Regions from separate parts of the Homo sapiens genome. Here region 1 is linked to region 2. The links are contacts of gene promoters, found by promoter capture Hi-C in human tissues and cell types (Jung and others, 2019). All regions are on one chromosome and are shown on one strand. Each heading gives the region's core, a stretch centred on a gene start or on the middle of the fragment in contact. The rest is flanking DNA. Distances are from core to core; before and after follow the strand shown.

Evidence for each region. Contacts are between HindIII fragments. The study calls those that stand out against the background at their distance.
Region 1: a fragment that was not itself captured here is called in contact with the fragment with the promoter of DKC1 in region 2 in 1 of the 25 tissues and cell types used here (lymphoblastoid cells).

What each region holds. Positions count from the first base shown.
Region 1 is chrX:155,045,557-155,052,167 of GRCh38, forward strand. FUNDC2 (FUN14 domain containing 2) reads left to right here. Exons shown (of 5, transcript NM_023934.4): 3 at 953-1,028; 4 at 6,114-6,245. Among named protein-coding and RNA genes, the nearest start is that of FUNDC2, 22 kb to the left of the region's middle. The HindIII fragment of the contact is 7,075 bases long and covers 1-5,714 here.
Region 2 is chrX:154,758,644-154,765,204 of GRCh38, forward strand. DKC1 (dyskerin pseudouridine synthase 1) reads left to right here and starts at 4,221. Exons shown (of 15, transcript NM_001363.5): 1 at 4,221-4,338; 2 at 6,256-6,323. The coding sequence starts at 4,323. RefSeq lists enhancers at 3,842-3,901, 4,652-4,751 and a silencer at 4,002-4,301. The HindIII fragment of the contact is 8,972 bases long and covers 1,916-6,561 here.

The DNA of each region.
Region 1 (6,611 bases), core at 927-3,426, 280 kb after region 2:
AGAAGTGAACACTAGCATTTGGTAAGGTCAAGATCAGTGGTAACCTTGATAGGAATGGTTTCATTGAAGTCATGGGACAAAAGCCTGAATGGTGTAGGTGTGAGAGAATATGGACACAGGACAAAAGAGACGGCCTCAAAGTAGTTTTGCTGTAAAGGAGAGCACAGAAAAGGGAAGGGGGCTGGAGAATTGGAGTCTAGGGAGGATTTTTTCAACAATGGTTAATGATTACAGCTGATAGGTGTTCAGCAATGAAACAACAAAATCTCTGCCTTCATGAAGCTTACATTTTAGTATCGGGTGGGGGCAGGAAGATAGACAGTAATAAAGAAACACATAATTATATTAAACTGGCTACAAGATGTTGCCACTCAGATATCATATGGACATTTTGCATTCAACATATTCAAAATGACATTATCTCCTCCCCTCCCTTCCCCCACCTTTTCCTCTATTCCTCTTCCTTGTTTTTATATTGTAAAAAATGCCACATTCAGGACAGAATCTTGTGCCTTATCCCTTGCAACCATCCTGTCCTCAAACTCAGGAGTGTTTTTTTTTTTCTTCACAAACAGTTCCTCAGGTCTGCTCCCTCCTTGCCATCTCTACCTCGGCCCATTGGCATTCACTTCTCTTCTGGATCGCTACCTCACCGTCTTAACTAGAGTCTCTGCCTTCGTCCTCCCCCTTTAATCTCTTCTCCACAATGTAGCCAGAGTCATCTTTTAAAAATATAACCTGAGAGTTTTAAGGGACTTACTCAAGACCACAAGATTCATAGAGCCAAGATTTGATTTCCTTATGTCATGCTCCTCTTGGGGCTGGCTTTATGTAGGGGGTAGGAAGGAGCTAGGTCATCTTAAGCTAAGTAAGATATGAACATTGCCAGAAATGCATGTTTGTATGTAACTGACAGCTCATCAATTTGTCTGATGTTGGTTTGTTTTTGTAGGTGCACAGGTTTCATATTCCAGAAGGTTGGAAAGTTGGCTGCAACAGCTGTGGGAGGTGGATTTTTTCTCCTTCAGGTCTGTATGTGAAATGTTCTCAGATGTTTGGAAATTCCACCTGCCCATTAAGGAATGTGGTGTGGGGAGTTGTAATACAGTCCTGGCTATGTCACACTAGACTAGCCTTAGCACTTGTTTTCATGTACTATTTTAAATGCTAGTGACCGTTTGAGTCAAATTTTATTCATTATACTAGTAAATGTTATTTGCCAGTCCCATTTTATTTCCTCATGTGGCGACAGAAGTGCAAATTCCTTATCATAGCTCCCTTAAAAGAGTTTTTAAGACCAGCTGAATTATTAAGCGGATGTGATTTCAAAAATACAAGTGTGCTGTGATGATTTAGTGTCATATGCTAATATTATAGCTAGCTTTCACAGAGGGGATGTTGAGCATGTGATGAGAAATGGGAGCTAAGTGACAGTACAGTCAGATGTCGTCTGCTGTCTCCTTGACCCATAGTTTCAGAACCAGTGGTTGCCAGTTCTCTGAGACTGCTTAGGAGAGACTAACAAGCAAGACTTGAAAAAGGGAGCAGTTTCTCCAAAAACAAAAGAAAACTGACATTTGATTGTATTAGGCATACATTTCTTAGCTCTGTGGCATTGGTATTCAAATTTGGCTCCACATTGGAATCACCTAGGAGTTTTTAAAAGAGCCAACGTGTGCCACTCCTGACCCACAGTCTGATTTCATTGGAAAACTTAAAACTCCTGAGGTGATTCTGCTGTGCTGTGGGAGCCATAACTTGCTGAATCATGCCAGAGTCTCTGAATTCACAGCCGTTTGTCTCTTCCCACAGTTGGCAACCCTCACTTTTGCAAGGTAAGTTCTGCATTAGCACCATGATTGGAGTGAGTTTTGCAGATAGGTCAGGTGAAAATCAAATGTATCGAAGAGGGAAGCTGGTAACTGGCTGTAGCTGGGTTGAGTGTGGTATTGCTGCATGACAAATTCCCCCAAACCTAATGGCTTCAAATAATGATCACTTTATTCTCTCTCATGGTTACAGGAGTTTGGGGAGGGTTAAGGTAGGTGCTTGTGGATCAGAGTCTCATGTGGTTACAGGCCAGATGATCAGAGGGTTAGGGTAGGTCTGGACTTGTGGGGCCTCTTTGTGTCTCTGTCTCTGTTTGTCTTCCCTCCTCCTCTCCTTATTTCCCCCCTGTCCATAGTCTCAGTGCTCTTCCATGTGGTCCCTGTGCCAGTATAGGCTTCCTCACACTACCATGACCTCAGGACTCCCAAGCACAGTTCTGCAGAAACATGGTGCAAGTTGCATCTCCTTTGTTGCCCAAGCCTCACTTTTGTTGGCTGCTTCCCTGTGGGCTTGTTACGTGCTGGCTCTGTTGCTAGACAGGTCAGACTCCCTGCAAGGTGGGGCCCCTCCTCACACCTCTCTCTCCTTCCCCTTGACCCTTCAGGTGGAAGTGCAGTAACATCTCTATCCCTGTGGTTTCCCTTATATGCTGCCCCAAACTTCATAAACATTTTAATATTGCTTTGAAATGTCTTAATTTGAGTGTGTCCTCTGTTTCGTTTTGGGGCCCTGACAGAAATAATTGGTATTGAAAATGTCTCCAGAAAGGCACCTCAAAATGAGATTTTGGGGTTGGATAATTCCAATATTCAAGGGGTACAGGGACACTGCTTTGCTGCAGAGGTGAGACATGGAGAATCTGTGGCAGGCACTCATGTTATCTGTCACCAGGGGAGTGAGAGCAGGAGGCAAGCATAATGTTGGGAGATCAGTTATATCACAAGTTATAGTTTGACATAGGGATCCAGTTTCCTTTTTTCCATACTGATAATTGAGCAGAATTTAGTGAATAATTCTTCCCTTTCCCAACATTTGCAGCATTGTCTCTTTCATATATCAGAACCCATGTATGTGTGGCTGTGACTCTGGTTTCTGTGTTCTGTTCCACTGGTCAACTTTCGATCTTTATGACAGTACTAAAGCTTAATATTTGGTAATGCAAATTCCTCCACCTTATTCTTCAGGAGTGTTGCAGCTACTTTTGTGTTTCTGCTCATTCATCTAAATTTTAGATCAGACTTGTCAGTTATTTTCAAAAATCCTGTTGAAATTTTTATCGGAATTGCATTGGAACCATGTAGATATCTCTTATGATATTGAGTATTCTATCTGTGAACACGGGCTTTCTCTCCAATTATTTAGGTCTTCTTTAATGCCTTTGAATAGACTTTTTATTATTTTTCCGTATAGATCTTGTACATCTGTGATTCAGTTTTATTCCTGGATACCTTATAACTTTAGTTGCTCTTGTGGATGATACGATTTTTAAAACTACACATTCTGATTCATGCTAGTGTGTTGAAATACAGTTGATATTTTATGTTGCTCTTTCAGCCAGCCACCTTGTTAAAAAAGTCTTGTCTGGGATTCTTTTGGGTTTTGTCTATAAAATCTTTTTATGCCATCTGTGAACAGTGAAATTTTTCCTTCACGTCTTTATGAATGTAGTTGCTTTTTCTTACCAAGCTGTAGATCATTTCCAGCACTTTTTGCAGCTTTCAGAGCCCAGCAGCAACGCTTGCCAGTTTTCAGTTTATTCGGCTCCCTCTACTTGTTGTGCTGCAATGGAAGTAGGATGTTGAGCTTTGTCAGTAGAGGGCGCTGGAGGGACCTTGCAGCGGGAGAGGCTGCTTTTCCCAGTTCTGGTGTTGCTTTGCCCCTGCAGTGCAGTCCCCCAGTAATGCCAAGGAGAGCAGGAAGTCACCTCGCAATCCTGGCCTGGGCCACCCAGGGGACTTCACCACCACCATTACTACTTTTGCCCCCTTGTGAAAAATCAGTTTGTTGTAGTTGTCCACGTCCGTTTCTGTACTTTTTATTCTGTTCTGTTGGTCTGTGTGTCTATCTCTTCTTCAGTATGACACACTGTCTTGACTACTGTAGCATTATAGTAAATCTTAAATCAGGTAGTGTGATTTCCCCAACTCTGTTCTTTTTCAGATTCATTTTGGTGATTCCAGTTCCTTTGCCTTTCCATATAAATCTTAGAACCGGCTTATTTATGTATCTATAAGAAATCCTACTGGGATTTGTGATTTGGGATTGCAGTAAATCTATGGATAATTTGGAGAGAACTGGGCATCATTTCTGTGTTGAGTATTCCATTCCATGTACATGATGTGTCTCTCCATTTATTTAGGTTGTCTTTGAGTTCTTTCTTCAGCATTTTGTAGTTCTCAGTATACAGATCCTGTATGTTTTATTTGATTTGTACCTAATATTTAATTATTTTTTGCACCCATTGTTGTAAATCATTTAAACATTTTTCATTTCCAGTTCAAATTGCTAGCATATAGAAATTCAGTTGGTTTTGTGTGAATTTGTGTCCTGTGACCCTGCTAAACTCACTTTTTTAGTCTAGGAGTTTTTGTTTTTTGTTGAAGTCTATGAAATTTTCTATGTAGACAAAGATGTCTATGATTGGAGACAGTTTGACCTCTTCCTTGTGAATCAGGATGCCTCCTAATTCTTTTTCTTGCCTTGTTGTGCTGACTCTGAATTCACTTCTGGTACGATATTTAATAGGAGTGGAGACGGCGGACAGCTTTGCCTTGTTCCCTGCATTCGTTCTTTCACCATTCTGTACAGTGTTAGCTGCAGGGTTTTTTATGTAGATGTTCTTTATCAAGTTGAGGAAGTTCCCCTCTATTGCTCTTTCTCTGAGAGTTTTATCATGAATTTGCGTTGAATTTTGTCAGATGTTTCTTGAGTCCTGCCTTGAGGTTAGGCCAGGCGATACTGCAGGAAAAGCAGGAAACACGCCACCAGTTTGGTGGTGCTTTGAATTCTGGTCTTCTCCAATCTGCACGTCGCTGTTTTTATGTAAGAGCCTTCAAATAGCTAGTCCATGTATTCTCTCAGTTTAATAGCAGGATTTTGTGGGATAAACAGGGTGGAGTAAATGAACCAGAGCCTTCTTTTAGATACAAATGTTGATACTCAACTATGTGGTTGCTGTAAGTAATTTGTTCTTTTTAGTACTAAGTAATATTCTATTGTGTAAATATGATACAATTTGTTTATCCATTCATGTGTTGATAGACTTTTGTGTATTTCCAGTTATAGACTCATAAATAAAGGTACTATGGCTTGATTACTTGTGAAGTTGAACTTTTTCCTTTTTGTGGACACTTTCCTCTGAATTGCCCTTACCCATTTTTAAAGTGAACTTTCTTACTGATCTCTATAAGAAGTTCACTTTTTTGAGTATCAATGTTTTGTTTATGATACACATCACAAGTATTTTCTCTAGTCTGTTTGGGTGACTGGTGGTGCCATTAGCTAAAATAGGGCCTAGAGGAAGAGCAACAATGCAGGAGGAGACTCTAGCAAGGTGAAGACTTTTAGTTTCAGATATTTTGAGATTGCCAAAAATTTGGTAGAGAGAAGTGATATTGATAGGGCATTGATTGATTGGCTACAGTCATTCTCTTCATTCCTAGGATGATATTAATCCATCATCAAAATCTACATGCTTGAATCAGATTTACACTGAGTTTTAGTGTTTGTGCCTGCTGTTTTTATCAAGGGAAATAGGTATATGCTGTAGGTGTCTTTGGATGTGGTTCTCTTAATATCCGTTTATATGAACTTGCTCATGAGAAATCTCTGTGGGGCCAGATGCTAGATTTCTTCCTGTTAAGCAACAGTAATAACTGCCTGAATGCTTTGCTCTGTTCACATTGTCAGGAAACTGACACTCATGGGCACATTGTCAGAGTCATTCTCTGGAAACATTTGTATTGGCTGTAAGGTCCATCTCTTCACCCTACATCTTGACCCCCCACCTTGATTTTCATCTTATGTAACTCTTTGTAAAAGGGTTGTAAGAGTATAAATAATTTAAAAGAATTGCCAGTAGTTATTTCTAGTGCCAGGCATATGGCTTCGCATATAGGGGGGATGCTGAGTAGATGTCATCATGATACAAAGAATCAAATGGCAGATGTCTCCAAAAATGGAAAGTCAGAGGGTTTCGAGAGTCTACTTCAGGATTTATCCTGACTAAAAGAAATAACAAATCTGTTTCTCATTTCTTGTTGTCATTATTGTTGATACTGTAGCTTGCAAACCATACTGGGTACATCAAAGTTGACTGGCAACGAGTGGAGAAGGACATGAAGAAAGCCAAAGAGCAGCTGAAGATCCGTAAGAGCAATCAGATACCTACTGAGGTCAGGAGCAAAGCTGAGGAGGTGAGACTTGCATTGTTCACGTGTAGTGTGTGAACAGTGCAGACAAAAACAGGGCTTAACCCTATTGTACCATATCTCAGTGATGGACAGGGCTTAAGCATTACAAAGAACTTAGAGTAATGAGACAAAACTAACTTGGATTATCATCACTTCAGAACATTTTTAAAAGCTGGATAATTGTTTGGTGACCTTTGTCTGTGCACATTTGTGGAGTGATTATCCCTTTAACCAGTTCTTGTAGGAATGTGGGGCAGCATAGTAGGTGGGAAGGATATATGGCCAGTATAATTATTTTGAGTCCCATTTTGTCGCTATACACGCATATCTCTGAAACATTCATACTCTGCTTGTTCTGCATATAACTAG
Region 2 (6,561 bases), core at 2,971-5,470:
AATATAAGAGGTCTGGAAAACAGAGTTGAGGTGGGGAATGGCATATCTCACAGACATGCTGAATAATCTGCCTTCAGAATTTTTGCTTCTCAACCTCATGACTTTGTACCTGGCTGGTTTAGATTCTAGTACCCAAGAAAAACATGCTTCCACTTATGAGAATCGCTCCACTAACTTGCAAACAGAGCCACTTGGCCACTTCTGGCTCCTCATTGCCATTACCCAATCCTCCCCTCTCCAGCTGACTTCCAGTTACAACTCGTTGCCCAGAATTGTGCCGCATGGCCACCCTAACTGCAAGAGAGGCCAGTAAATGATGTGACAAAGGATCTGACTGGCTTAGAGCGACTGTGATGCTTGCCCTGCTGCTGGGCACAGTGCTGTCCTGGCCAAAACTGGGGCTCTGTTATGGAGAAAGAAGAGGAAAGGGATGTCTGTTAGGCAGCCAACTAACAGTGCTTACCACACATGACCTAGTGAAACGTTTTAGAAGCAGTATAACCCTACAGGACCTGAGGGCAGGAGAGCAGGCTGGGAACTAAAGAGCATCCATGCAGGGCATTGTTAGGGGCTTTTCTCTTAGAGTACAAAAAGATATTTAGAGCTATTGTTTCACATGCCTTTCTTTAAATGTGATTTTCAGTTTTTACCTCTGCCAACATCCACTAAAGTCTTATTTAATGGTATAACTTGGTGTGGTGTGGTGCTGTGAAGGTGAGAGATGAGACATAAACAATTTTGAGGCCTACCCTTAATGTTCACTCACCCCACTCTTTAAACCTGTTCTTTATTGAGTCCCACAGTCTATAATACCCTTCCAATAATAACAGTCTGTTTCTTGTACTTCCAAACAAAACATTTCTAAGTGGCACAAGATTTGGTACTAGAAGCAAAGTCTTCCATGAGTCTTGCATTCAGACAAATGCAAGAATTTTGTTTTGGTTACCTGGCTAGATGTGGTGAAAACAATGTGGTGAAAAATAATCTGGGATGGGAATCTAGTAGCTTACAGCATTTATTAGCAAAACACCTCCTTCAATCCTTGTACACTCTCACCTGAACTCTATCGTCCATTGCAGTTAAAGCTCTGGGATAGGCTTCTTGGTCCAGGCATCACCTCCACATGAACCTCTATTCCAGCGTCTATACCAAGAAATCAGCCTGATTTAAAATGATCTTCTCTCTTTTTGGGTCAAGAACCTTCACATATCATTTACATAAATATTACCTGTTTCCTGGTACATGTTTGCAAACTCCTACTACTGTTTTCATATGCAAGCTTTCTCCTGCTGCATGACTTAAATTGTTCAGTTGAGGCAATGTAGAGGTTAACTCTAGTTACAGGCCTGGAGACATTGGGGTGGGAGAGTAGGAGGGAAGTGCCTTTGCTTCCCTGCTAATTCCCTCATGAGACAGTAAGGGAACCTGCAATCAGATAAACGTGGGGGTTGTTTAACAATGGAGGCTCAGTAAGAGTTGGGGATTCTGGGGACTCCCAATTCTCCAATTTACTCCCATTTCAAATCCCAGTGTTCTATGCTTTTCTGATCGTGGCCCCAACCTTTACTAAGAGAACTGAGAAGGCTGCGAACTCACTGAGTTTTGTAATTTGGAAAGGTGATGGGTCAAAATTTTAAAGTTTGGTTTTTAGTTGTTTTATTCTTGTGCCTGTAAAAGATAAGTAATTCCTTAAGCATTGTTATAGAAATTCCCTCTGTGACCCAAACCAAAAATTCGAGGAATTTGGCTGTCATTTAGATGATCCCAAACCATCATGAGTGGCCATCCTATCCCACAATTCTTGAAATCCTGTGCAACCATCACCAAAATGTAATTTTAGAACCTTTTTTTATCACCTCAAAAAGAAACTCTGTGCCCATTAGCAGTCATTCCCCATGTTCCCCTAAATTCCTAGGCCAAGGCTACCACTAATCTGCTTTTTGTCTCTAGATTTGCCTAGTCTGGATATTTCCTATAAATGGAATCACACAAAATGTGGCCTTTGGTGAATGGCTTCTTTCACTCAGCATAATGCTTTCAATGTTGTATCCATGTTGTAGCATGGATCAGTACTTCATCCCTTTTTACGGCTCCATTGTATGAATAGACCACATTTTGTTTATCTATTCATCTGTTCATTTTGGTTGTTTCTACCTTTTGGCTATTGTGAACAGTTCTTCTATGAACATATGTGTACAACCATCTATCTAAAAATCCATTTTCGATTCTCTTGGGTCTATACCTAGGAGTAGAATTGGTGAGTCATATGGTAACTCTGTGTTTAACCTTTCAAGGAATTGCCAGACCATTTTCTAAAGTGGCTGCATCATTGTACTTGATGGTACTCATGGTTTGGTCAGACAACACCCAGTTTATCATGGGCAGGTCAGGTCTTAAGACCACATGTATCACAGTCATTCCGTTTCAGTAAATAATTACAGCAAGCCAGGAGCTTTTCCTCCTGGCAAATTATTATTTTTTGTGTGTGGAGGTCTTAGCTTTAAGTTTATTTCAAATTCCAGAGGGCTGAACTGTGAGTCTCTTATTAAAGCTTGGAAAAGGCTCTGTGTAGCATCCTAATGGGGTATGCCATCTCCAGAAAATGGCCCACTGAGTGTCATGCTTCTTTTTTAGCAAGCAGAGGGTTCCAAGTAAGGCAACTTGTCTTTCTCTTTGGAGGGACCGTCTCAACATGCCTCAGCCCACTGCATGCCCAGGAAGTTCACTGAGGTATCACCTCCCTGAATTTTCAAGGGGCTTCTCTCTCACCTTGTGGTGAAATATTTGCCACTTCCTATGCATCAGGTCCACTCAGCATGATGTCTTGGGGTACAGTGAGATGATCAAATCAGTTCCCAGGGACTCAATTATGATAATGTGCCAGAGGCTTCCTTTGTTCTTTCCTTCCATTATCACCCTCAGTCCTTGAGTCAGGAAGCCCCTCTGGGAATTTATCCAGCTACCAATTGTGTTTATTACAAGTATGGATTCAAGAACCGGGGAAAGAGCCACAGGGTGGCTGATAGTGAAAGGGACGTGGGCTGACTCCACTTCTGACCATTGGACCAAGTGGCATTCTACTTCCCCAGTGATTCACACGGGCTAGTGCAAGCCCCTGGTAAATGGCCACGGGTCCCACGAGAAGGGAGGAGGCAGGCTGAAAGTACACACTTGTAGCGTTACATGTGCCTGGCCTCACCTTTACAGGCTCACCTCACGGGCTCTGGCCTGTGGACTGACTAGATCTGGGAATTAGATGAGGCACCATGATTTTCCATTGTGGTGATTCAAGGCAGAATGCCTTTAGCCAGACCTAGAGTTACCGGGGTTATACAGATCATGATGGCTTACTACAGGACACTGTGATCAATTAGACACCACCAAAGATCCCTGGGGAGAAATCAGTTTGGTTCCAGCTTCCAGCCCTGCTGCCTATCATGATACCCAGGCTCATCCTGTTTCTATGAGATTTAGTGCCAGTGCTTTGTCTCTGCTGTTTGGCGTGAAGCCCGGTCGTAGAGTTCAAATTGAGGTGTGCTGTGAGCATAAACGCACACACCGGAAAGTCTTTGCGGGGACAAAAAAAAAAAACCAATGTAAAATACCCCATTCATACTGTTGTGTTTTGCCTATATGTGGAAATGATAATATTTCGGATACGCTGGGTTAAAAAAATTCATTATAAATCATTTTCACCTTTTTCTTTTTACTCTTCTTTCATGTTGCTGCTGGAAAATTTAAAAGTCAACATGTGGCACGCACACTACTCCTATTGGCCATCTGCTCTAGCTGGATGGGAACTGCAAGCAGCAAAGGCCTTTCAACCTCTCCGAGCTTCAACATGTTCACTTATGCATCAGGACTGATCCAACAGCAACCTGAAAGGGTCGGTGTGAGAAAGCAAAGAAAGAGGTACTGTTTACGGAGCGTTCAGCCGTGAGCCCAGGCGCAGGCGCGGAGCTAAACCCGGAGGTGAAGCAACTACAGCTGGGGCCACGCCCACAGACTCCGGGCTGTCGGGGCGGGCGGCACTCGCGCTTCCAGCCTGGGCCAACCAGGCTGCTTGAGGCTCGAAGCGCATGCGCGGTCTCGCCCTCCGTACTGGCCGAGCCAGCAAATCGCATTGCGCAGACGACCAGCGGGCGCCTCGGATTCCGCCCCCGGGATGGCCCCGCCTCCTCCCGCCCCGCGGCAAGGCACGCACAGGGCAGTGCGCGGGTGGGTGGGTCCTAGCAGCGCGGCCTGACGGGACCAAGGCGGCGGGAGTCTGCGGTCGTTCCCTCGGCTGTGGACCGGGCGGCACGCACGCGGTGCAGGGTAACATGGCGGATGCGGAAGGTAAGGGCTGCAGGCTTCCGGGCCGTGCTAACTCCGGGCGACTCGGGGAACGGGGGTGGGGGGATGGTATCGGGGCCCGCGCACGCCTCCCTCTGGTTCCCGCCGGCGTGTCGGCCTCTTCACCGCCCGGCCTTAAGCCGGCCTTGTCTCTCGGCCCTGGCTCCGTGGCAAGGGCGCGAGAGTGGGAGCCCCTCGCGGTGACTTGGCATGATGGGGCTCGGCCCTCTCACCTCCCTGGGGTCCGGGTCGCCGTCGAAAGACATCTGCCGTGCTGCCCACCCCGCGGTGGCGTGGGACGTGGCAGTGTCTGTGCTGCTGCCAGCCCGGACGCCGCCGTTACAGCTCCATGCGACTAGGGGAGCAAGGGTAGTGGAAACGGGCCGAGAAGAAAAGGAGCGGAGGGACCCCGGAGCAGGGATAGAGCTCCGAGTTGCAAGAAAGTTCTAGAGGCCACAAGCCCGCGGGGACAGTCGAGTGGTCGCTTATGGAACTTTCCGGCCCCCTGCGTGAGCGCTTCTGTGGGATGTTTAAGCTCTGCCATAGCCACGTGGTGAACCGGAAGGGAAGCCGACACGTGCAGTAGCCTACAGTCAGTTACCCAGCCATGGGACCCATACATTTGGCCTTACACACCTTGTTTTCTCGCTTACCTACGGATATACGTTCTAAGAAATGGGTCGTTAGGCGATTTCATCATTGTGTGAACATCAGAGGGCTCTTACACAAACCTAGGTGGCATAGGCTACTACACACCTAGGCTGTATATGGTGTAGCGTATGGCTCCTAGGCTTCAAACCTGGACAGCATGGTATTGTGCGGAATGCTGTAGGCAGTTGGGACACAGCGTCGAGAGTTTGTGTACTTAAACATGTCTAAGCAGAAAAAGGACAGTAAAAATATAGCACAGGGCCGGGCGCGGTGGCTCAGGCCTGTGATCCCAGCCCAGGCTGGCGGATCACCTGCGGTCAGGAGTTCAAGACCAGCCTGGCCAACATGGTGAAACCCCGTCTCTACTAAAAATACAAAAAATTTAGGTGGGCGTGGTGGTATACGCCTGTAATCCCAGCTACTCGGGAGGCTGAGGCAGGAGAATTGCTTGAACCTGGAGAAGGAGGTTGCAGTGAGCCGAGTTTCTGCCACTGCACTCCAGCCTGGGGAAAGAGTGTGACCGTCTCAAAAAAAAAAAATTATATATATATATAAATATGTGTGTGTATATATGTATATTATATATGTATGTATTATATGTATGTATATTATATATATATAGTACACAAGGTTATAAGTGGTGCACCCGTAGAGGAGGGCACTTACCATGAATGGAGCTTGCTGAGCTGGAAGTTGCCCTGGTTGAGTCGGTGACTGAATGTGAAGGCCTCAGACATTACACTACTGGAGACTTTATAATCTGTACACCTAGGCTACACTAAATTTATAAAAATATATTTTTCTTCAGAATAAATCAACCTTAGCTTACTGTAACTTTATAAACTTTTTACTTCGACTGTTGTAATAATACTTAGCTTAAAACAAACACATTATTTAGCTGTACGTAAATATTTTCTCTGCTTATCTCCTTATTTATAAGTTTTCTATTTTAAAATTTTTTAATTTTTTTCTTAAAAAATTTTTTTTTGTTAACTAAGACACAAACACAGCACACACAGTAGCCTTGACCTACACAGGGTCAGGATCATCAAGACATCACTAGGAGATAGGAATTTTTCAGCTCTGTTATAATCTTATGGGGGCCACCATCACATACGCAGTCTGTACTTGCAAAACATTATGTGGCATGTGACTGTAATTGTAGACCTAAAATCCATTTCCTACCTGCCCTAATTTCGGTCTTTATTTTAAACCCTTGTTTCATTTATTCTTGGGGAAAATTCCCAAATCCTGTGTTTGTTTTTTTAGTAATTATTTTGCCAAAGAAACATAAGAAGAAAAAGGAGCGGAAGTCATTGCCAGAAGAAGATGTAGCCGTGAGTAGTAATGTGTTTGACTTCACTTTGACTAAAAAGAAAGTTTACTTAAATAACAAACTAAAGGAAAGAAGTGTTTTTAAAGGTTTCCAAGGAATGGGCCAGCATTGGTAGTCATTGTGTAGATTCGAAAAAGCACTGAAATGACACAGCCCCAGACAGTCCAAGTGTCCTTCAGGCATAGCTTACTAAATGGTGCTGGCCTTACCAACTGCTGTCTCTGAATTTGTCTTCCTTA